Linked DNA regions of Homo sapiens: all the other regions are linked to region 1. Evidence: promoter capture Hi-C in 16 types of primary human blood cells and fetal thymus (Javierre and others, 2016). All regions are on one chromosome and are shown on one strand. Each heading gives the region's core, a stretch centred on a gene start or on the middle of the fragment in contact. The rest is flanking DNA. Distances are from core to core; before and after follow the strand shown. Region 1 holds the start of ARHGAP24 (Rho GTPase activating protein 24). Region 2 overlaps ARHGAP24 (Rho GTPase activating protein 24). Region 3 overlaps ARHGAP24 (Rho GTPase activating protein 24). Region 4 overlaps ARHGAP24 (Rho GTPase activating protein 24). Region 5 has its middle 130 kb from the start of WDFY3. Region 6 overlaps ARHGAP24 (Rho GTPase activating protein 24). Region 7 overlaps ARHGAP24 (Rho GTPase activating protein 24).

Region 1 (3,100 bases), core at 326-2,825:
TGCCCTGAAGGATTGGTTTTGAGTTCTAATTGGAACTGGGGACAGATTGTTTGTATTTAATCCGTCTGTACATCTTCTACTCAGTAACTGAGTAAAGCTCTTAAACTCTACTGCAAATATCCCTGGATTCCAATGAATTTGTCTTACTTAGTAGACATAGCAACACATATTGTTTTATTTATGTATTTATGTATAAGCAAAGCCTTAACAACTTTTATATTCCAAATACTCAGCACGATTTATTTATTTCCTTTTTAGAAAGAGATGAAACAATGATGCCGTGGAAGGTTAAAAAAAGAGTAACATAAAATGTGCTGGAAACAGAAATTACTTGGAGAAATTACTTGTTTAATTCAAATGAATTAAACGAGATATAGTCTACAAAGAAGTCTGGGCTCCCTATTACTGGTTGATGCTGAAAATCTATCTAAGGAATTCAGAGTAACATTGTCTCCCTTCTATTTGGGTACGTATAAAATAAATGTAGTCTTAAGTATTTTCTAAAAACGAGACCATATTACATGTTTATCATTAAATGTTATTTTTAAAAACATTTGGACAAAATCTTTTGAGTGGCTTCAAATTCACCAAAGATTCCCTAACGTTTTGTGTTTACAAATATATGTATATATTTTATAATATATATTTCTAATATGTAATATATTTATAAATATTTTAAAACATATTTTATACATATAAAATATATATTTTTGCAAATATATATGCTTATTATTAAAACCTATCTTTGTGCGCCTGTTACATAGGGAACTCCTATAAGATACTAGAGGAAACAAACAAGGGGAAGGGGAGGATGGATACCAAGAGAGGAAATTGAATTGTACAAAGGGTTTTTATTAATTCCATCTATTTTTAAAGCCAGAAAGACATACTACCAGCTTGCTGTCTCCCGGCACAAACATGCGCGCGCGCGCACACACACACACAAACACAGACAGGCTACATCAGCACGGGATTCCTGCGATCCCTCCCCGCCCCCCGCAGCCCCCTCCCCGCCCCCCGCAGCCCCCTCCCCGCCCCCCGCAGCCCCCTCCCCGCCCCCCGCAGCCCCCTCCCCGCCCCCCGCAGCCCCCTCCCCTGGCGCAGGCAGCCGCGTCCGTCCTTCCCGCGGTAGCTCCGCGCACTTCCTCGCGACCGCATCACCTACCTTGCTGGGAGCTCAAGACAGATGCCGGACAGGGCTGCTGCTCCGAAGGAAAAGGCTCCCAGGACCAGCAGTAAGAAAACGCAAAGAAAAAAAGGTGGTAGTGAGGCTCCTTTACTTTCCACAACAAGGGGAAGTGTTGAACTCTATGCACTGGGCTGCTCCGCAGCGCGGGTTTCGGAGGAAATAGGCGGCCGAGAGAGCTGCGCCTGCGATGGGAAGTTGGGGGGATTCCCCCAGCCACCCAGCCACCCCCGCCAGGCTCCTCTCTGGTCCCCGCCGCAGCCTTGACAGCTCCCCTGGTCTCCGAGCCCCTCCAGAGCCCTGCTGGTTTCCACCCGGAGCTGGGCTGTGTTGCCACATGCACTTGAGAAATCCTAGCAGTTGCGCAAAGAGTCCCAGAAGTTAGAAAGGGTGATTGTGTGTGAATGTGTAAATATACAGTACAAGAGGCTGGAACAACTGAGTGGGGCCAACCCTCAGACACAGCTCGAGGTTTCAGATTTCATTTGGCAACTGGTAGCTTCACAGGACTCGAGCCGCACTACAGGGGAGGCCGGCAGGAGCCCCGCCCTCCCAAAGCCTGGGTTATCTGAGAGCTGGAGCTACACCGCCTGGCGCCACTGACAGAATGCGCCCTGCCTGGTTCCTCCGCATCTGGCATCGCTCGTTCCTTTCAAGTGCATCATAGATACTTGTTGGCCACAGATCTGGGGCTGTGGGCGCGAGAAGGTTGGTGAATACATGTCTCCTGCCCTCAAGGAGCTCTGCATTTCATTGGCCAAACCCCATACACCGGTTTTACTTGCTTCTACCAACTCTGTCTCGCTAACATTTTATTTCTCCAATTAGAATTACCTGGGCCATTAAAGCAATATTCCTGGAAATGCACATTTAGATGGATGCTCTCTAACTAGAGCCTTAGAGAAATTCAAAGTATAATTACTTTCTTACGGTGGTGTAAGAACTCTCGGAGTTACACAATATGGGACAAAAGGACAAACTAGTAAACATTGTTTTGATGCAGGCCGTCTCTTCCCACCATCACCACAATGTCTGTTTCAAATTGTGATCTTACAGTTCTGGTTACCTGGCATGCTGAGTCAAATTATTTCAAAAAGCTTTGTAAAGATCTCTGTTTTAGAAACCCACTTACAGTGGATCAGTCATGCAATCCTAGCACTTTGGAAGGCTGAGGCAGGAGGATCGCTTGAGCCCAGGGGTTTCAGACCAAAATTGGCAACATAATGAGACTCCTGTCTCTATAAAAAAAAAATTAAAAAAATAAAAAAAAAGTTGGGCGTGGCGGCGTATGTCTGTAGTCCCAGCTACTCAGGAGGCTGAAGCGGGAAAATCCCTTGAGCCCAGGAGGTCAAGGCTGCAGTGAGCTATAATTGTGCCAGCGCACTCCAGCCTAGGTGACGGAGTGACACCCCCGTCTCGAACAATTACTACTGCTACTACTAATAAAAGAAACTCTCTTTTAGAAATCATCACCAGATATCCTTAAGACACAGAATGGGGGTGTCCTCACTAGGGATCTCCAGTGAGAGAGGGATATGGAAGAAGAGCAAATGTTTAGTTTTAGAAACACCAAAAATAAAAGGCTGAGTGGACACTGATATGTTTTTCCTTTTTGTCCTCTTTCTCCAAGTTCTTGGAGAAACGAATCTACCCCATCCCATGCTGAGGTCCTACTATAAACTTGATTTTCTGGTGGGAGAATTCTCAGCCCTTTAATGAATCAAATTAATTTGTGTGGGGAAAAAATTGCGTTTCATATTTCATTTTAAAAATATGTATGGAATTCCTAAGCTAGAAGTAATGTAGCTTATTTTCCAATTGGTGGGAATAAATTACCTTCATCAACCCACATGGCCTTACATGTTCTAGCAACACCCTAGCAGGTGAATGCTGATGGGCAGTTTCAGATGAAAG
Region 2 (3,100 bases), core at 417-2,916, 460 kb before region 1:
AAACAATATGCTCTCAAACTATGCTGAACTATGTATTGCTTGTCATGTCTTCATGCCTCCTTCTAGAAGGTAGGTCCTGCCTTTGTAAGTCAGTGTAGGAAACCTTATCCTGTAAGAGTCAACTCATACATCTTCTGTGAAGTCTTTACTGACATTCCATTGCCTCATCCCCTACTCTAGACCCAAAGCTTGATATGTTTCTTTATTCCTTAACATTTTGCATGGAAATTATTTATTTAGATGCCTAACCTGTGCTGGACTAGTCAAAAGAGGATTTTATTTTTACATTTATTATAATGAAATAATTGTTTTACATTTATTATTATTATAATAAATATTAGAAAGCAGCTACATACTATATATCTATCCTATGAGCTTCGGAGAGGTTTAGGCAAGGTGCCACAGACACAAGGACCACACTGGGATGGGTCCCAGGTATAAAGGACTCCAAAGCTTTAATTCTATTTTACCACAGTCAAGGCCTTTTGTTTATGTCCCTGGAACTTATCAAGATGGGTGACGCACAGATGCTCCATAAACATTTATGGAATAAATGCATGCATGGAAATAAAACACTTTACCTCCCCAATTATAGAAAATAAATGAATAATTCCAATGTCAAATGAAACTCATTGATAGTTCGTGGGTCGTGCCATTAATTTTGAGTTCCTTATCCCTTCTTGTCTGCAGATCACATACTCAGCCATAGTGGGAATTTGCCTTGACTTATCCTCTGCTTACTGCAACTCTGCTAGCAGGATAAATCCTGGTATCACCAGGATGGTAAGAATTTTCCATTAAAATGAACATTCACCCATAGCAAATGGGCAAATCAAAGTAAAATACATCCATTTTAGTACAGAACTAAGAAACAAAGCAAGGCAAAGCTTATTTCACTCTATCACAAACTTTTTAAGTAGCCACAAAATATTATATAGATAGAAATCCTTTACTCCAAGGAGCTCAGGGTCTATCGTAACCAGTGAATGTTGATAGAATCTTTACTCTTTTCAAAGTCAGAGGGGGGAAGGAAGGAGAATAATAAATGCTAGGAAGGATTAAGAAAGTGTTACAAGGTGTACATAGCGACCCAGTGGACTAGGTCTTTGACCATTGGAGCAATTATACACACTAGGTTCCAAGTCAGGCAAGTTGCATGTATTTCTTTATTTGGCATTCACAGACATCCTACAAGGGGGTCCCTTTTCTACAAACAGGGAAACAGATTTGAAGATGGCAGGTGACCTGTCTGAGGTCACACATCTAGAAAGTGGCAGATTTGGGATACAAACACAGCTCCATATGATTCTAAAAGTCTTTCATTTTTCACTATGTTATGTTAATTGAATTCAAACATAATTTTTTCCAAGGCATTCTCACTATTGTCTTAGTATCACATGGGAGAAAATGTCTTTTTGTAACTTTCAAAGACCAAACCCGATTTCCTTTAGTTTATGTGAATCACTGGGTTTCCACAGGAGCCTGTGGTCAGCCTTTTGTTCAGGGGCACCTACAACTTAATAGATAATTTGGTGTGGTGCTTATCACAAAGTACTTATTTATGTTTCGTTATTCCAAGGAGTCTGTGAATTCATAGATTTGAGACAACCTGTTTGTTTACCTTCTCATTCCCAGCACCACTTGGTAGAGGCTCCATAAAACATTGATATATGAATTAATGAGCTAGTCACTTATACGCAGTTTAAAATTATATAGATTTGGATAGTGGTGTTTTGTTGGGCAAATCCATTTTCATAAATGTGATTACAACATATATAACATACAACAAATTTTAAAGAGGATGTTGGTCTTGTCCACCACCACTGTAAAGACATTCTATTGCCTATGGATTCTGGGAATAGATAGTAACACTGTACCTCACCAGTTTGTAATCGATCTTGAATCCCTGATTGAATAGACCTATTGCCATTCTCCACTTTGGGAATGAATATGTGTGTGTGTGTGTATGTGCACGCATATGTGCATGTGTGTATACTACAAACGCGTATAAAGCACCTCAAGGTGGCTATTAGGATACAGTGGCCAAGAATCAGCATATGTAAAATGTAAGAGCTGTCGGCTGGGCGAGGTGGCTTGCGCCTATAATCCCAGCACTTTGGGAGGCCGAGGTGGGAGGATTACTTGAGGTCAGGAGTTTGAGACGAGCCTGGCCAACGTGATGAAACCCCATCTCTACTAAAAATACAAAAATTAGCTGGGTGTGGTGGCGGGCACCTGTAATCCCAGCTACTCAGGAGGCTGAGCTAGGAGAATCACTTGAACCCGGGAGGCGGAGGTTGCAGTGAACCAAGATTTCACCACCGCACTCCAGCCTCGATGACAGAATGAGATCATTTCAAAACAAACAAACAAATAAATAAATAAAAATAAAACATAAGAGCTATAGAGTTAGGAGCATATAATTGGTAAACAGAGAAAGCTTGCTGAAGAAATTAGAGTCAGTGATGCCTTGAAGAGAGCATAAAGTTGAGATAGACAATGGAGAAGAAAGCATCATAGCAGAGGAAACAAAGTGAAGAGACATGAAGAAGTGGTGTAGGACATGTGTTTAGGAGAAAGGATGAAATAGTCTGGGGAATTAGGGGGCTTATACTCCAGGGAATTGTTAGAATTTGTTAGAGGGCCTTTATAGTTACTTGAAATAGGACTTCCTCCTGTGAGCAATAGGGGATCATAAAAATCTTTGAGCTGTGGAAAGTTGCTTGACAGCACTGTTTTAGAAATACAGATAGGGAAATGCTTCACAAGATGGCTTGTGTGTTGTAGGAATTTGTGAAGAGTGCTGGGGGTGCACAGAGGTGAGGATGAATGCTGTCTTGAAAAGCCACTACTTAGGTTAAAGTAAGTTGCATACATGGAGCAATAAAGGCACAAAGAGCTAAGGTGATGGAAATGGAAATGGAGCTGGAAAGACATAAAGAAGAAGCAATGGTGAATGATCACTAAGTGGCTGCTGTGTAGGAAAAGCCACTGAGGACCTGATGATAACTTATCTCCAAGAAAGGAGTAGTTCACGAAAAAATCAAGATAGAGGTGGACTTTAAAAATCTAATTTAGCATCCTGGGATCACAACAATCA
Region 3 (3,100 bases), core at 411-2,910, 440 kb before region 1:
ATGCTCTACTATGTATTTATTCCATTGAGTGTCCTCAATGGAAGATTTGGGACATGAGACCTATGTTGCTCAAAGCCCAGACTACGTCAGGTAACTAGGACTTTCTTAGTGACAAAAAGATTGCTACTATTACGTGCATTAAAGGTTGTTCCTATGTGCATTACTTTTCTAAAAATTATACTCTAAGAAACATTTTATTGTACTTATTGTGTGAAAAGTTCCAAAAATAGCCACCAAAGTAGGCTTTTGCTATTTTTCTTTTGAAGAAAATAAATGTAAGTTGTCAATAAAATTGTGAACTAAAAAACAAACAGTTTCTTAGAAGTGATGTCTTTCTTCACTTCTCAAAAGAAGACATTTATGCAGCCAAAAAACACATGAAAAAATGCCAACATCACTGGCCATCAGAGAAATGCAAATCAAAACCACAGTGAGATACCATCTCACACCAGTTAGAATGGCAATCATTAAAAAGTCAGGAAACAACAGATGTTGGAGAGGATGTGGAGAAATAGGAACACTTTTACACTGTTGGTGGGACTGTAAACTAGTTCAACCATTGTGGAAGTCAGTGTGGCGATTCCTCAGGGATCTAGAACTAGAAATACCATTTGACCCAGCCATCCCATTACTGGGTATATACCCAAAGGACTATAAATCATGCTGCTATAAAGACACATGCACACGTATGTTTATTGCGGCACTATTCACAATAGCAAAGACTTGGAACCAACCCAGATGTTCAACAATGATAGACTGGATTAAGAAAATGTGGCACATATACACCATGGAATACTATGCAGCCATAAAAAATGATGAGTTCATGTCCTTTGTAGGGACATGGATGAAATTGGAAATCATCATTCTCAGTAATCTATTGCAAGGACAAAAAACCAAACACTGCATGTTCTCACTCATAGGTGGGAATTGAACAATGAGAACACATGGACACAGGAAGGGGAACATCACACTTTGGGGACTGTTGTGGGGTGGAGGGAGGGGGGAAGGATAGCATTAGGAGGTATACCTACTGCTAAATGACGAGTTAATGGGTGCAGCACACCAATATGGCACATGTATACATATGTAACTAACCTGCACATCGTGCACATGTACCCTAAAACTTAAAGTATAATAATAATAAAATAAAAAAAAGAAGTGATGTCTTTCTTAGAAGATATGTGCATCATCTCCAATAAATAATTATTTAAATATTGCAGTGAATTATTTGTTTGCATTTAAATTTTTAAACAAGTTGCAGTTGCACAAAGGAAACTGCTGTCACAGACATTTGAGTTAGTTTCCAAGACAAGTTCACAGTAGAGAACTGAGGACATTTCAGTGAATACTCAGATGCTGTTAATAACTTCCAGGGTGAATTGTTTCCTCATTCCCAACTGCAAATCAGTTGAAAACTAGACTGTTCTACTATCCATTTTATTACAGACTACAGAAAAATACTGGAAATTTATGTCATTTAATTGTCATTTAGAATACAGAGTTAATAATTTTCACTCATACAACTATAAGCTCTTATTTATTTATTTATTTTTTTAAGTATTACTTTCCCCAACTTTAGTGGGATGGAGAGTTCTGTAGATGTGTATTAAGTTCACCTGGTCGAAAATTAACAAGGATATTCAGAACTTGAACTCAGCTCTGGACCAGGTGAAGAAGCTATCATCAGAGTGAACATGCAACCTACAGAATGGGAGAAAATTTTTGCAATCTATCCATCTGATGAAGGGCTAATATCCAGAAGCTACAAGGAACTTAAATAAACTACAAGAGAAAAAACAACCCCACCAAAAAGTGGTGAAGGACACGAACAGACACTTCTCAAAAGAAGACATTTATGCGGCCAACAAACATGAAAAAAAGCTCATCATCACTGGTCATTAGAGAAATGCAAATCAAAACCACAATAGATACCATCTCACACCAGTTAGAATGGCGATCATTAAAAGTCAGGAAACAACAGATGCTAGAGAGGATGTAGAGAAATAGGAACAATTTTACACTGTTGGTGGGAGTGTAAATTAGTTCAACTGTTGTGGAAGACAGTGTGTTGATTCCTCCAGGATCTAGAACCAGAAATGCCGTTTGACCCAGCAACCCCATTACTGGGTATATACCCAAAGGATTATAAATCATTCTGCTATAAAGACACATGCACACGTATGTTTACTGCAGCACTATTCACAATAGGAAAGACTTGGAACCAACCCAAATGCCCATCAATGATAGACTGGATAAAGAAAATGTGGCACATATACAGCATGGAATACTATGCAGCCATAAAAAAGGATGAGTTCATTTCCTTTGCAGGGACCTAGATGAAGCTGGAAACCATCATTCTCAGCAGACTAACACAGGAACAGAAAATCAAACACCACGTGTTCTCACTCATAAGTGGGAGTTGAACGACGAGAACACATGAATACAGGGAGGGGAATATCACACACTGGGGCTTATTGGGGCGTGGGGGGCTAGGGGAGGGATAGCATTAAGAGCAATACCTAATGCAGATGACAGGTTGATGGGTGCGGCAAACCACCATGGCACGTGTATACCTATGTAACAAACCTGCACATTCCGCACATGTATCCCATAACTTAAAGTATAAATAAATAAATAAGAAAGTGATGACTGATTTATCTTTCAAGTAAATATTGACTTTTATTTTGGTCATGTTTTTAAAAAAGTATAATTGTGATACATTTACTTTTCAGTGATTTATGAAACTTTTAAAATCTCAAATAGGCTAAGTTTATATTTCACTATTTTTCGCATTTCTTGGACTTATTCCTTCAAAAGTGTGCTATTTGTGCTGAGCATGTCAAAGATAAGAATGATATAATGTATTATGTTTTGAATACTTGTTTCCCAGATTACACTGGGAAGTTAACAATTTAAGTCCAACAGTATATTCTGACTTCCACTTTTGTCAGAGATTCAGAATCTAGTTACTTCCTTCACAGTATGTAATTACATTCTTCTGATAGAATCTTCCAAGAAATAAAGGTAGAACATTTTCTTGGCAGAGCTAAAGTATCTAGAATTTATATCCTCTTCTAATTTAGTTTGGTTTAGGTTGGGA
Region 4 (3,100 bases), core at 281-2,780, 410 kb before region 1:
ATAAGTACATAAGAACAGAGCATCTTTAGATTCTTTAGTATTTCAGATCAAAATTCACCTAAGCATCAGCTTTGGGAACTTGAAATAACAGAGGTAATGACAGAGGTAAAAGGAGAAACTTCCATGGAGAAACGTTTTTATGTTACAGTAATTTAGCGTCTTTTTCTAAAAGGTTCTTAATGTTTTACATGTTTTAGTGTTGTAAAATATTTACAACTGTAAGCATATAGGCATAGGCTATATTGTTATGTCCTGGTGTTTCTGGAGACAGTCTCCCAATCCATAGAGCAGGAAGATATTTGTTCCATCTCTTTCTCAGTCTCTTACTCTTTTACCCACTATTTTAAGGATAGATTTTCATTTGATGTCATTAAACTTTATCAAAATTTGGTATACCTCTCCTTTGATTAATAATTCTTAATAGACATATTTTAAATATAATTAATTAACCTTGGATGAGAAGAAACTTTTGAGGGCTTTGGATTATATATTTTAATACTCTAATCAGCAAAGAATCTTTTAATTAAATGTTAGAGGATTCCTTTTAAAATTATGATGTCTTACATAAACCTTTGGCAATATTAATGAAAAACAATTATTAAATAATCATCATGACAGTAAATACACCAGTTTTTACTCTTTTGTCTTCTTCTAGTCCTTTTCATACATATAGATGATACAAATATTTCTTGAATATTGGTACCAGAGTATGCTCTTGTTACTTCAAAAATTACATTTGCCATATCGTAACTATTTAGGTAAATCTCTTAAAAATGGTACCAAAGCTAGTCAATGCAATCATTATCTGATTGATAATGAGATCAAGGCAAGAGAAAAGCTGAACAGCTTATATATAATAAAATCTCTTATTGTCTCTGTAATGACCAACAAGAAATTCTATGCATAGAACAAATACATTGCCCATGTGAGTCATCCTTGTTTAAACATTCTCTTGTATCAAAACATAAATGAGCTATTATTTTCATATCAGTGTGGAGTATAGGGGTTAATTTAAACTATTTTATTTGAAAATCTTAGGGGGAAATGGATATGATCTAGCATCATTATTTTAGATGCTTTATGACATCATTTCATTGTTTAATGTATTCACTTATTTGAAAGCAAAAAAGCTATTCAGTTAATACTTTCAAAGCTCTAGGGATATGTATCGGTTTTAAAGTGCCATTTAGAAAATAAACACTAAATGACTATCATTCCCTTTCTCTCCGTAAGTTTGGGTGGCCTCAACTCAAGTGTTTATTTTAGTGGTGATTCCATAAGCAACACACAAGCCTGGTCTATGATGATAAGGCTTAGTACTTTCAGGACCACCTTCTGGTGCACTAATTCTTCATCTATTAAGTGCTCACCTTTACATGACATGAGAATGTTAATCTGGAGGCAGGGTGATAACTGAAAATGAAAAGTATACTCTACCCATGGGGCAGCTTACTGTTGCACTTAAATCAGGTAAGTAACCCAACTCACATTTTGTATTTCACATGGTAACGTTGTTGTATGATTATATAATTGTCCTGCGAAGTTTATCATATTACAGTAAATAAATTATGTTGTCAGATAATGGTCATTGACAATCATTAAACTTTTGCTAAACACATGGTTTGTTAAAGATTATCTTGGGCCCTCAGATAATGAATTACTTTTGAGTTCAGTCATTTCCAAATTAAAGATAAATCTGGATACAATCTCTTCAAGGTATTTTGAAATTTCATGAGATGTTTCAAAATTCTTTATGGCATTAGAATAGCAATGTTGTGACTTTAATTAATAGTTATCTTCATTGGACAGGTGCAACAAGGAAATTGATGATGACACTGCATTTCAAATTTCTCTGTGCGGGATTCCTATTCTAGGAAGTGCATAACTAATCCAAAATTTTGCTCTCATAGTTATAAAAGATAATAAATAAAGTATCAACCAACATAATCTACCACATCTAACTCTAGCTTTAAACAATTAAATTAAAAAGCTCAGATGTTAAATGACCATTCTACTAGCCATAACAACATACCATTTTAGTTTGCCATGTCATTTAACACATGAGCCATTATCAAATATTTGGAAATAGATGGGACTCCAAGAACTACTATTTTCCCAATTTACTAGGAATAATTTTAAAAGATATAAATAAGTATTAAAAGTTCATGGTATTATTATTTTAAGTCTAAGACATATAGTCTATGATCCAAGAATGGTTTTGTTATACTTCAAATTTTTAACTTTCAGAGACACTTAATAACCTTTCAAAAAGACGACCTTGAAGATTCTAAAAATACCTAATTTTATTATCTGAGATAATTAATAAAACCCCCAAACTGGGTAACAGCTAATAGGTATTCGTGAGTTTCTATAGATAATGTACTATGAATTAGAATTTGTAAAACTGGCCCTTAGTTGAAAAGCACAATTAAAAAACATATATTTTAAAACCTATAATAGACACCAAGTTTCCAGAAGCAAATATAAGCCTAAATTAGGCTGTCTATGTGGATTACAAAACTAAAAGGCTAGGGGAGTTATATAGCACTCAAAATACTATAATCAAGACCACATATGTAAATATTAAACTTTACATAAAGGAAGCGTAATGAATCTAATATGTACCAAAAAGAAACTAAATCCTAAAATGCCCTCCTAAAATACGTTGGCTAATAATGAATAAATCTAAACACTGAAGAAAGGATGTATGCCTTCAATAAGAAAACTTTTTTCCATATTTCCTTCTACGTGGTAACTTCAGACCACTCTTGCAGTTTCTTTGTATTTCTTGACAGACATAAAAGACCTACATCATTAAAAATTTTCCAAACCCATTTTTACCATATATAACTGTGTAAAAGGTGGCACATTTTAGAGATTATGTTTATACCTATAATTTGTAGATGAAGCAGATCAGACAGTAAATTGAAATAATAAAACTTTAAAATAACAATTTTAGTTGATGCAACAATTTCTGTACTCAACACTCTCAACTCCAACCCCAAGATTTCTTTATCAAAGCTGCCAAATATTTCTAGGAGAAAAAAAATCAATGAATTTACCTTCCATATTTTCTAGAAGAAAGTCAAACATTCCACAA
Region 5 (3,100 bases), core at 354-2,853, 380 kb after region 1:
GGAAAGAGACACTCTCCTTACCTTTTCTGGGGAAAGTTAAGTATGGCCAAGGGCCCCACAGTGTGCTGAAGGCCTCACATAGTGTGATACTGCCTTAGAACACCCAAGGGCAATGTTAGTACTTAGTGGTTGTGCCTAATAGGGGACTGTGGATACCAGATGCAACTAGCAAAATGCCTTTGCATAGAGAGTAATAGTTTAAAGGGATATATTTGTGAGATCACAGGAAACATCCTGGAGATGCCAAGAAATGTATAGAAGAGATGTGAGTGGTAATGGAAATCACAAAATAACAGGTAGTAAAAAATCCTGCAGGTGGAAATAAAATAACAAGGAGAAAAATAAACATAATCTACTGTAATTAATGTAAGTACATTTTTGCCTGTAAAAGCTAGTGTAGCTCAGGGAAATACAAGTCTCATGTGCATACAATTTACTTTCACTTAACAAAGAAGGTACTGAATTGGAATAATTGACTATAGTCACTTCCCAGATCTACTTCAGCAAACCCTAGTTATGTCTTTTTATTAATTACATAGTTAGCAAAATATAGTTTTCTCCATTGACAGGTGTCTATGTTGGCCTATAAATGTGCTTGTAAATAAAAACTTCATAACATAATCCTATATATACAATTGATTGACTGTCAGCAATAAATTCAAAGCAGCATATAACATGCCATCAGCTGCCCAGTAGATGTAATCTTTTACCTCTGAGCAAATTATCTGTAAGATATACTTCAAGGTAGAATATAGAAGTTCTTCATTAAAAGTACATTCAGGTCATACTTTCAACACCCACTAATTTGTTCCATAATTTTACCTAAGTATCTCATAAATTCCTTCTTACTAAATGGAAGCATTTATTAATTTCCATGGCTACCTTTGGTCATTATTTTCACACCTGAATTGCACTCTTTTAATAGCATTCTTTTAAACGTCAGTCCTTCCTTTGTTCTATTTCATGCCCTCTTGCTTTTGAACTATTTTATCCTTGAAGAGTTTTCTTTCATATACTTTTTTATACTCCAAACTTTATCTGCCTTAGTCATGTTCACCTTTCATTTCCTCTCAGAATAAGTACTGACCTTATTTTTTTTAGTCTCCAAAAGGAGCTATGACCTAAAGATATTTTATCATCACGGCTGTCTTTATTGATGCTTTGTTACCATTCCTGTCATATAAGGTTCAGGATTACGCGAAGAGTTCCAAGTGGGATGGCTTCCCAGCCCTTTGAAATGCTTTTATAATGATACGTTGCAGAGATCCATTAGCCTTCCTGATTATTAAGATGCTACTGCTTTGTTTCATTTCACCATAAATTTTTGTTGCTAATATTTCCTTACAACTTGTTATTTTCTTACACATTTTTCCAGGCTTTTACCTGATCTGTTTCTTTATTCAAAAAGATTCCACATGGTTTCGAATATGACATATAGCAAATGCAGTGACAAATACACTTTCTTTAGTAAAAAAATTAGTAAAAAAAATGCTCCAAAAGGTTCTGTTTTCTTAATTCAGTCAATTTATATAAATCTTTTTCTCGCCAAAATGCTACTTGGTTGTCCTCTACATGGTATTTTCACAAAGAAAACAAGTTCCAGGTAAAGGTAAAAGGGAATAAATGGAAATAGTATGGAATTATCCCTCCTATTAGAAGAGGAGCCCAGTAAATAATATTACTGATTATCAACTAGTAGAACCAGCTCTATATGAAGAGCATATTGTGTGGACTTTTCTGGAAGCATTTATGTGATTTGAAAGTGTTTACATAGAGTACAAAAAATCTAAAACTTGCAACTAACAAATAGCCTAAAAATTCAGAGAATTTATAGTTGATTATCAACTTTGGGTTTTGACTGGCTTCATGTTGGTTTTTATTTTACAGTTCTAAGAATCAGGTAATGAAACCCTCAGGCACAAATCAAGGTCACAAACAAGTTGGTCACGCAACTGAAATGAAAAGTCACAGCAGCCATGTATGCACAGCAGACAATCCTTTGCCTTATTGTCTTAGAACACTGCCAATTTTGCTTTCTTGTTCACGTTTCAAGAAGAAATGCCAATTAGTGAACTCTGAGGTATGTCATCTTCTTTTTCCTTCCTCACCAATTACCCTGAAACTAACAAGCTCAAAATTATTTATCACACCTACATCTTACCTGCAGTGTCCAAAGCAAAGGAAAAAGATATCTCTGGACACTGTCCTAGAAATATAGCAATAGTCTACTCGCACAGGTAAAACAGGAACAAACCAGCAAAGGGTCAAAGGAAATAACCCATCTCCCTGCTTTCTTTCTTTTATATGGATTTACCTTTTCCTCTTTCTCTTCCCACTGTCAAACATGCTTATCTAAGAAAGTTCCTGCAGAGATATATCTCTTTTTAATGGAAACGCCTTCAGCCATTTTGGTGAACTTTCTTGAGAGTTGGAGGAGGGAGGGCGTGACTTGTTCACATTCATAACCTCAGCATGTAGCACAATATTTGCCATGTAACAGGCACTCAAAAATGTTAAATGAATAAAATATAGTTTGTGCATGCTTGCTATAGTCTGAATGTTCTGTGTCTCCTGAAATTCTTATGTTAAAGTCCTGACCCTCAAGGTGATGTTAGAGGCTCTTTGGGAGGTGATTAGGTCATAAGCCTTCATGAATAGGATTAGTGCCCTTATAAAACAGGAGCTAGTTCCCACGTTTTCACCACATGAGGACACAAAAGGTGCCATCTGTGAACAAGGAAATGGGTCCTCAGACACCAAATCTGTGGCTCTTTGATCTTGGACTTCCCAGACTCCAGAAGTGTGAAAAATAGATTTTTGTTGTTTGCAAGCTGCCCAGTTTATGGCATTTTGTTATAGCTGCCCAAATGAACTAAGACAATACTATAGCCACTTTTAAATTATGCTTACATTTGACATTTGACATCTCACCGGCAAATTATTGTAAATATGCCAAATACAGGTAATGAAATCATATTATATGACTTCTGATTTTTCTCCTCTGGGTTGACTATCATGTTTCACTCATTAAGACTTCTCTCACCTGTGCAAACTCCACAGAAACATGAGCTGAAATCACTACGAGTAGCATAGTGGTTAA
Region 6 (3,100 bases), core at 298-2,797, 380 kb before region 1:
ATTTTTAATGCCTACTTTCCTTTAGTAATTGATGCATTCAAAGTGAAGTTATCTATTCTAAGTTAGCCTTGGGTTTCACAGAGACACATGCAGTAAAAGCCTCTTGTTCTTCCAGACTACCAGGCTGGTGATTCTGCCATATGGATCCTAAAGGGGCTGATAGGTTTAATATTAAACCGTAATGAAGAGATGTCACAAAAATATGATGTGTATTTAGCATTTGGTCTTTGGAGAGACCATCTCTGTAAATTGCAGTTCCTTCTTGGCATCTTCATTGTATTCTCTGACTCATATATGAGTGAGCCCTCGTGGGGCACCATATTTCAACAAGTCACCCTGACTCCCCCATCTCTCTACACATTTGCTTTTTATATTCTCCATAAATAGTACCTTACCCTGTAATTCATCTTCCATGCCTAATTCATTCTAAATATAAGCTTCCTGGCCCTGTTTCTGCCATATTAATACACTTCCCGTGGCAAGCACATGTTTAAAAAGAAAATCAATTGTTCTGATTCACTGGACGTGAGCATCTGCATGTTTTTATAATTTATTGTTCATCCTCAGGTCAGTATGATACCAGCATTAAATATTAAGGCTGCTTAGGGCACAATCCTTATCAGAAAGCTTTGCCCTGTTAATATCAGGAAAAATGCTTGAATTTTTTTTTTAATTGTAAGCTCTAAAGCTTGGGTTAGCCATTGTGAGACAGTGGTAAAGAACAAGCACTACCCTGGAGACTGAAACATAACTAGGGGTGCTCAAAAGGAAAGGCTGTCATTTGTTTCTGTTTCTTCCCACCTGCTGCAAAGGCTGTCTCATTAGTAGGCTTAGGCTCTTAAATGAAACTGGAAGTTAAAATTCCAGACTACAGCCAGATGGAAGAATAAATTAGTAAAAATAGTCCATGTACCTAAATATCTGATAGCGGTGAGGACCCTAAAACTTCACTTGTCACTAAAACAGTAGCTATTAGCATGGGCTTATAGAGATACTCAGACCTAAATATCACATTAAAATCATGAGGAGAAGAAATATGTGGCTTATTTATAGAGAATATTTCAACAGTTGTCTGCAAAGTTCATTGTGTATTTAAACGTTTGATGACTATTACTAAAATATGTTGATACTCATTTGGGACTTTATTTTTATCTGCCGAGATTACTCTGTTACCATTTTCTATCTTTGCTCCATAAGTGAACATTATTTAAGTAAATTTATTTAAGGTTCTGATATCAAGAGTTTATGAAATAACTCCTAAAGGACATCTAAGTCTTGGTAGCTTATGACTGAGAAACTGATTCTGTAGCGAATGAAACCAAGCTGTTCTCAAGGAAGGCATACAGCCCAAGCACATCTTGTGTGTGTGTGTGTGTGTGTGTGTGTGTGTATGCATGTGGCTATGTATGTGTGTATGTGTGTATATGTGTGTGTGTGCACAGAAGTGGGTGTCAAACCTCCATCCTTCACATTTTTTCCCTAATGGCCTTTTCCCAGGTCAAACCATGTTTTAATACTATCAACAACCTGCAGCAATGTGTGAAAGTGAGAAAGGCCTTTGCCTAAGACCCAAAAGCAGATAATGGCAGGAGGATGTGCATTATACAGATTATACAGATTGCTTTATATGTACCTGAGGTTCAGGCATTTTTTTTTTCTGAGTACCATACTACTGAAGTTGATATGAAAGGTGCTTCAATCACTGGCATCTGTGCACCTCTCAAGATTCATTTATTTTTATTTTTATTACTACCAGATATACCTTTTCAATCTCTCCAGGTAAAATAAAATCTTTCAGAAACTCCTAGATCCTCCAGACACATTATCACTACCGTTTGTACAGATCACCTTCCTCTGCCTGGAATGCATCCACTCCTTTTCCTTTCCCTCTCAGCTTGGTTAATTTCATATCTTACAAGACATTGCTTCTTAGAATCATCTTGTCTACAGAGGCAAAGCCAACTTGCCAGCATTAAATGCTTTATTTAATGCCATAACATACCAGATAATGTTTTCTTTAACATTTGCATAGAGCATTATGTTTTAATTTATTGAATACCATTGGCAGGATGCAGCTTAGTTGCACAAAGCATTTACTCATTTTCAGGCAAATGCTATTGCTGTGAATGGGGGAAGGAGCAAATACATCACGTTACCTATGGGCACCATTTACTAGTATCCCATTATTGAAAAAGTGAGAAATTCCAAAAATGAAATGATGGAAAACACTACTATGTACAACAAAATTGTTTAAACAAATAGCAACAGAATGTCAACCAAATAAAACACTGCATCTTCATTAGCATCTACCATGTGGTCAGGGGCTCTGAGCATCAGCTTATGTTCCCTGTTGCTTTGTTTGTTTCACAAATGTTAGAGTTGTTTCTCTCACACCTCTAAGCTTAGTGGAGTGCTTCAAATGCAACTGGTATTAAATAAACATTTATTGAATGTTACATGAATGAACAACTAATTGAAAGAAGGCCTATGTCCATTGTATTTATTCTACATTTTTTTCTCACAAGTCTTATGGTGACGAAGAACTTATTTTGTGGTAGGTATTAAAGAAAAGTTTAAAAGAAATATTTGTTCCACTTAAAGTTCTTAATTACAAGCAAAAGAGGTTAAAAATGACAAACTTAAGTAAAAGAAGAATTATTAGAATACATCATGGACTCAGAATTAATAGAAACCTTCAGAGCTTCAGAGGGCCAGAAAAAATATTAGATAAACATAAAAAGCAGGAACCCAGAGGCATGGTAAGCAGTCTACCATGCTCACTAACCTGCATCTATTGCCCCCTCTGCAACCAGTTGAGTTGTGTAGCTTCCAACTATTTCTCTTAATATTGTATATCTTACAATTGAAGAGAGCACAAAATTAGTGAAAATAAATTCACTCGCCTATTTTCTGTCTCTATCAGTCTGAGAGAGTAAGGATCTACTATCTTTTGCTTCTTTAAGAAAAGGTATAACCTAACATTTTCTTACCCTCACATAGTAGGAATTTCCCTACCACCAAAACTGCATAAAGATAATTTCCAAATGAAAATAAAAGCATTATGAGGAAAAATAAATGGGTTGGGGGAAACCAAAAAAAT
Region 7 (3,100 bases), core at 176-2,675, 360 kb before region 1:
AATTATTATTACTGAGTCTTCTCTGTTTTATTATGATTGCTGAAAGTAATGAGAATAGCTACCATTTTTAGTTCATTGTAATTGTTGTGTTTCCCCTTCCCTTTGGAATTAAGCAGGTGCCAAACATTTATTAGATGCCATCTAAGGTAATTAGTTGCTCATGAAAATGCCATGAACAATGCTCAGGTTGTGGCAACTGAGCTACGATTTTTGATAGAACTCAATATTGATCAGCATAATGACAACAAATAAAGGTGAGGGGCTCAGCGCAGCTGGAGGAAGAAATAAAGAGAGGAAGAGCAGAAAATTTCCAAGGTGGGCCCTCCATGCGAATGAAGAACAGAGCAGGTGTTTGGCAAAGTTAGCTTGGGGGAGGGAGGGATGGACTTAGTGGGGGAGGGAAGGTGTGAAAATAATTGTATTTTGTTTATGTCTTAAAGAAAACGTCCCTAAAATGTGTCACTTAAGGAAGGATACAGTTTCAGCAACAGAAGTGGGGGGCATATCTGCCATAATTGGCTATGCAATAAAAGAGATTTTAAAAACACATTTTGCAGTAGTTATTTTGGCCTTTTTCTTTGAGACAGAGTCTCGCTCTGTCGCCCAGGCTGGAGTGCAGTGGCGTGATCTCGGCTCACTGCCAGCTCCGCCTCCTGGGTTCACACCATTCTCCTGCCTCAGCCTCCCAAGTAGCTGGGACTACAGGCGCCCACCACCATGACTGGCTAATTGCTTTTGTATTTTTAGTAGAGATGGGGTTTCACTGTGTTAGCCAGGATGGTTTTGATCCCCTGACCTCGTGATCTGCCCACCTCAGCCTCCCAAAGTGCTGGGATTACAGGCGTGAGCCACCGTGCCCGGCTATTTTGGCCTTTTAAAGATATATTCAGAATGATTACATGTCTCTCTTGAGAGGCAGTATCCACAGTAGTCATGCTCACAGGCTGTGGAATCAGATTTGAATTCTGACCCTGCCACTAGTTGATGTCACGATTTAACCTGTGTCTCAACTTCCTCATCTGCACAATTTCCCATCTGTGGTTTATAGCATTGTTGTGAGAATTAAAAGTGTATAAGTAATGTAGATGCTTAGGAGAGTGGCTGGCACCTAGTAATAACACACGTTCGCTATTTTTTCCAGACATTATTTGAACCCAATAAAGAATGTTAACAGAAAGGACGATCAAGACAGTCAAATGATGCTGGGAGTACATTTTCAAAGTTTGGTTTTGTTTTACTACTTAGCATATAGATAAAGCCAGCAGAGCAGAAATACAATACCGATCGAGGAATCTAAACTATAGGACTCGAGAGAAGATGATAAAAATGTTAAAATTCTCTAATTATCAGTTACAAAGATTGATTCCCACGTAGGGAAATTTCCCTACAACATTGCCCGCAGCATGGCAGTTTTATTGGGATTGGAATACAGTCCATATGGTGTGCTTGCTGACACTGGAGTTTAGGGGAGTGGGCTCCTCCTGAGCATATTTTACTTCTGTGAATAATCACTTGTCATTTCAAGTCCCCACCCCCATGAGAACTGCAACCTCGGAGTCCTCTAGGGAAGCTGCATTTGTTCCCTTGCTATTATAAGCATTTGCCCAAGATGACTCCAGGACAAAGTTTAATTCCGCTGCTTGTTTTTTTTTGTTTTTCTCTTTCGATTTGTCTTCATGTAACATAGACTCCACAACCACAAATTCCAGCTGAATTACATCTTTAGGGACGTGCAAAGACCTTGGGGCAGGAGAGGCAGAAGTCAGTGAAGCAAGAGTTCACGACATTTTCAATCACTTAAAGAATGATGTTAGAAATTCAAGTACCTTTTCCCCATTACTGGGGAAAATGTTTTCCCTTGACAGGCCTTATTTCAGAATTAGATTGTATGACCCAGTTAGCTAGGCTGACTCAAATTATAGAGCAGGTTGGCAGAAAAGAAACAACTTACAGAATCAAAGCAAGTGTAGGAAAAAAGAATTTGAGCTATCTCTGCCTAATGATCTTCTGAGTTCACTCCTAAGGGATGCTCTACAGCAAGGGAATAAATAGTCATCAACACTTAACTCCTAAAACTTTCAGAGATAAATATTACCTTTAGGAATAAATATGTCACAGCTGGGCTAGAATGATGACCCCATACTTGCTATGTGCACATATTTAGGGAGTCCCTGCACATCAGCACAGTCCTTTTTCCCCCTCCTTTTTGGCATTTGAGAATTGGGCTTCTACTCTGTGAGTTGGAACAGCTCTTCTGAAACTTTAATGTACAAACAAAACATCTGGGGATCTAGGTTAAAATGCAGATTCTGATGCAGGAGGTCTAGAAGAGGCTTGAGACTCTGCATTTCTTACCAGCGCTGACAGGATACTGATGCTGCTAGTCACTGACCACACTTCGAATAGCATGGAGGTAATATAATACTGAGGCCAGTCCTGGACTCTGAATTTTCTTGGGTTCTCCCATTACTATTATTTCTTCTGAGCCAATGCTAGGGGTTGAATTATGTTCCTCAGGAAAGATATGTTGAAGTCCTAACCTCCAGTATCTCAGAATGTGGTCATATTTGGAAATAGGGTCTTTACAGGTCAAAGTGGTAGTCCCTAATCCAATATGACTGGTGTCCTCATAAAAAGGGGAAATAGGGACACAGTGATAGATATGCACAGAGGGAAGGTGATGTTGAGAAACATAGGAAGACAGGCATCTACAAGCTAAGAAACTCCTGAGTCTATCAGAAGGTAGGAGAAAGACCGAGAACAGACCTTCTGTAGTGTCTTCAGAGGCAGCATCAACCTGCTAACACCTTGATTTTACATTTATGGCTTCCAGAACTGTGAGGCAGGAAATTTTTGTTGTTTAAACCACCCATTTGTGAAACTTTGTTACAGCAGTTTTGAGAAAGTAATACAGGTACTGTTATCAAGGACATTTCCCTGACACTTCATTCTCCTACTCTGTGACACACACAGAAATGTTTGGTGTACCACAAAACTTAACACAACCTGAGGAATGTGAACACAACATCCCATACCCAGATAAGGTAACAACAAAAGATGGAGGTCATGTTTCTTAGGACCAAAGCTTGCATTGCTCCTA

The links. The method cuts DNA at HindIII sites, captures the fragments that hold promoters and counts their contacts. A CHiCAGO score of 5 or more calls a contact.
Region 2: a contact is called between a fragment that was not itself captured here and the fragment with the promoter of ARHGAP24 in region 1, in 2 of 17 cell types (naive B cells and total B cells). The highest score is 8.0, in naive B cells.
Region 3: a contact is called between a fragment that was not itself captured here and the fragment with the promoter of ARHGAP24 in region 1, in 1 of 17 cell types (naive B cells). The highest score is 5.1, in naive B cells.
Region 4: a contact is called between a fragment that was not itself captured here and the fragment with the promoter of ARHGAP24 in region 1, in 1 of 17 cell types (total B cells). The highest score is 6.8, in total B cells.
Region 5: a fragment that was not itself captured here is called in contact with the fragment with the promoter of ARHGAP24 in region 1 in 1 of 17 cell types (naive B cells); the score reaches 6.7 in naive B cells.
Region 6: a fragment that was not itself captured here is called in contact with the fragment with the promoter of ARHGAP24 in region 1 in 2 of 17 cell types (total B cells and naive B cells); the score reaches 10.0 in total B cells.
Region 7: a fragment that was not itself captured here is called in contact with the fragment with the promoter of ARHGAP24 in region 1 in 2 of 17 cell types (total B cells and naive B cells); the score reaches 13.2 in total B cells.

What each region holds. Positions count from the first base shown.
Region 1 is chr4:85,473,625-85,476,724 of GRCh38, reverse strand. It overlaps ARHGAP24 (Rho GTPase activating protein 24), which reads right to left and starts at 1,575. Exons shown (of 10, transcript NM_001025616.3): 1 at 1,166-1,575. The HindIII fragment of the contact is 5,990 bases long and covers 1-2,285 here.
Region 2 is chr4:85,933,793-85,936,892 of GRCh38, reverse strand. All of the region lies in intron 4 of ARHGAP24 (Rho GTPase activating protein 24), which reads right to left. Among named protein-coding and RNA genes, the nearest start is that of MAPK10-AS1, 180 kb to the left of the region's middle. The HindIII fragment of the contact is 1,553 bases long and covers 890-2,442 here.
Region 3 is chr4:85,914,961-85,918,060 of GRCh38, reverse strand. All of the region lies in intron 3 of ARHGAP24 (Rho GTPase activating protein 24), which reads right to left. Among named protein-coding and RNA genes, the nearest start is that of MIR4451, 190 kb to the right of the region's middle. The HindIII fragment of the contact is 4,449 bases long and covers 1-3,100 here.
Region 4 is chr4:85,884,687-85,887,786 of GRCh38, reverse strand. The region is part of intron 3 of ARHGAP24 (Rho GTPase activating protein 24); the gene reads right to left. Among named protein-coding and RNA genes, the nearest start is that of MIR4451, 160 kb to the right of the region's middle. The HindIII fragment of the contact is 4,405 bases long and covers 1-3,100 here.
Region 5 is chr4:85,092,751-85,095,850 of GRCh38, reverse strand. No RefSeq gene overlaps it. Among named protein-coding and RNA genes, the nearest start is that of WDFY3, 130 kb to the right of the region's middle. The HindIII fragment of the contact is 5,236 bases long and covers 1-3,100 here.
Region 6 is chr4:85,857,503-85,860,602 of GRCh38, reverse strand. The region is part of intron 3 of ARHGAP24 (Rho GTPase activating protein 24); the gene reads right to left. Among named protein-coding and RNA genes, the nearest start is that of MIR4451, 140 kb to the right of the region's middle. The HindIII fragment of the contact is 1,713 bases long and covers 691-2,403 here.
Region 7 is chr4:85,836,079-85,839,178 of GRCh38, reverse strand. The region is part of intron 3 of ARHGAP24 (Rho GTPase activating protein 24); the gene reads right to left. Among named protein-coding and RNA genes, the nearest start is that of MIR4451, 120 kb to the right of the region's middle. The HindIII fragment of the contact is 3,324 bases long and covers 1-3,087 here.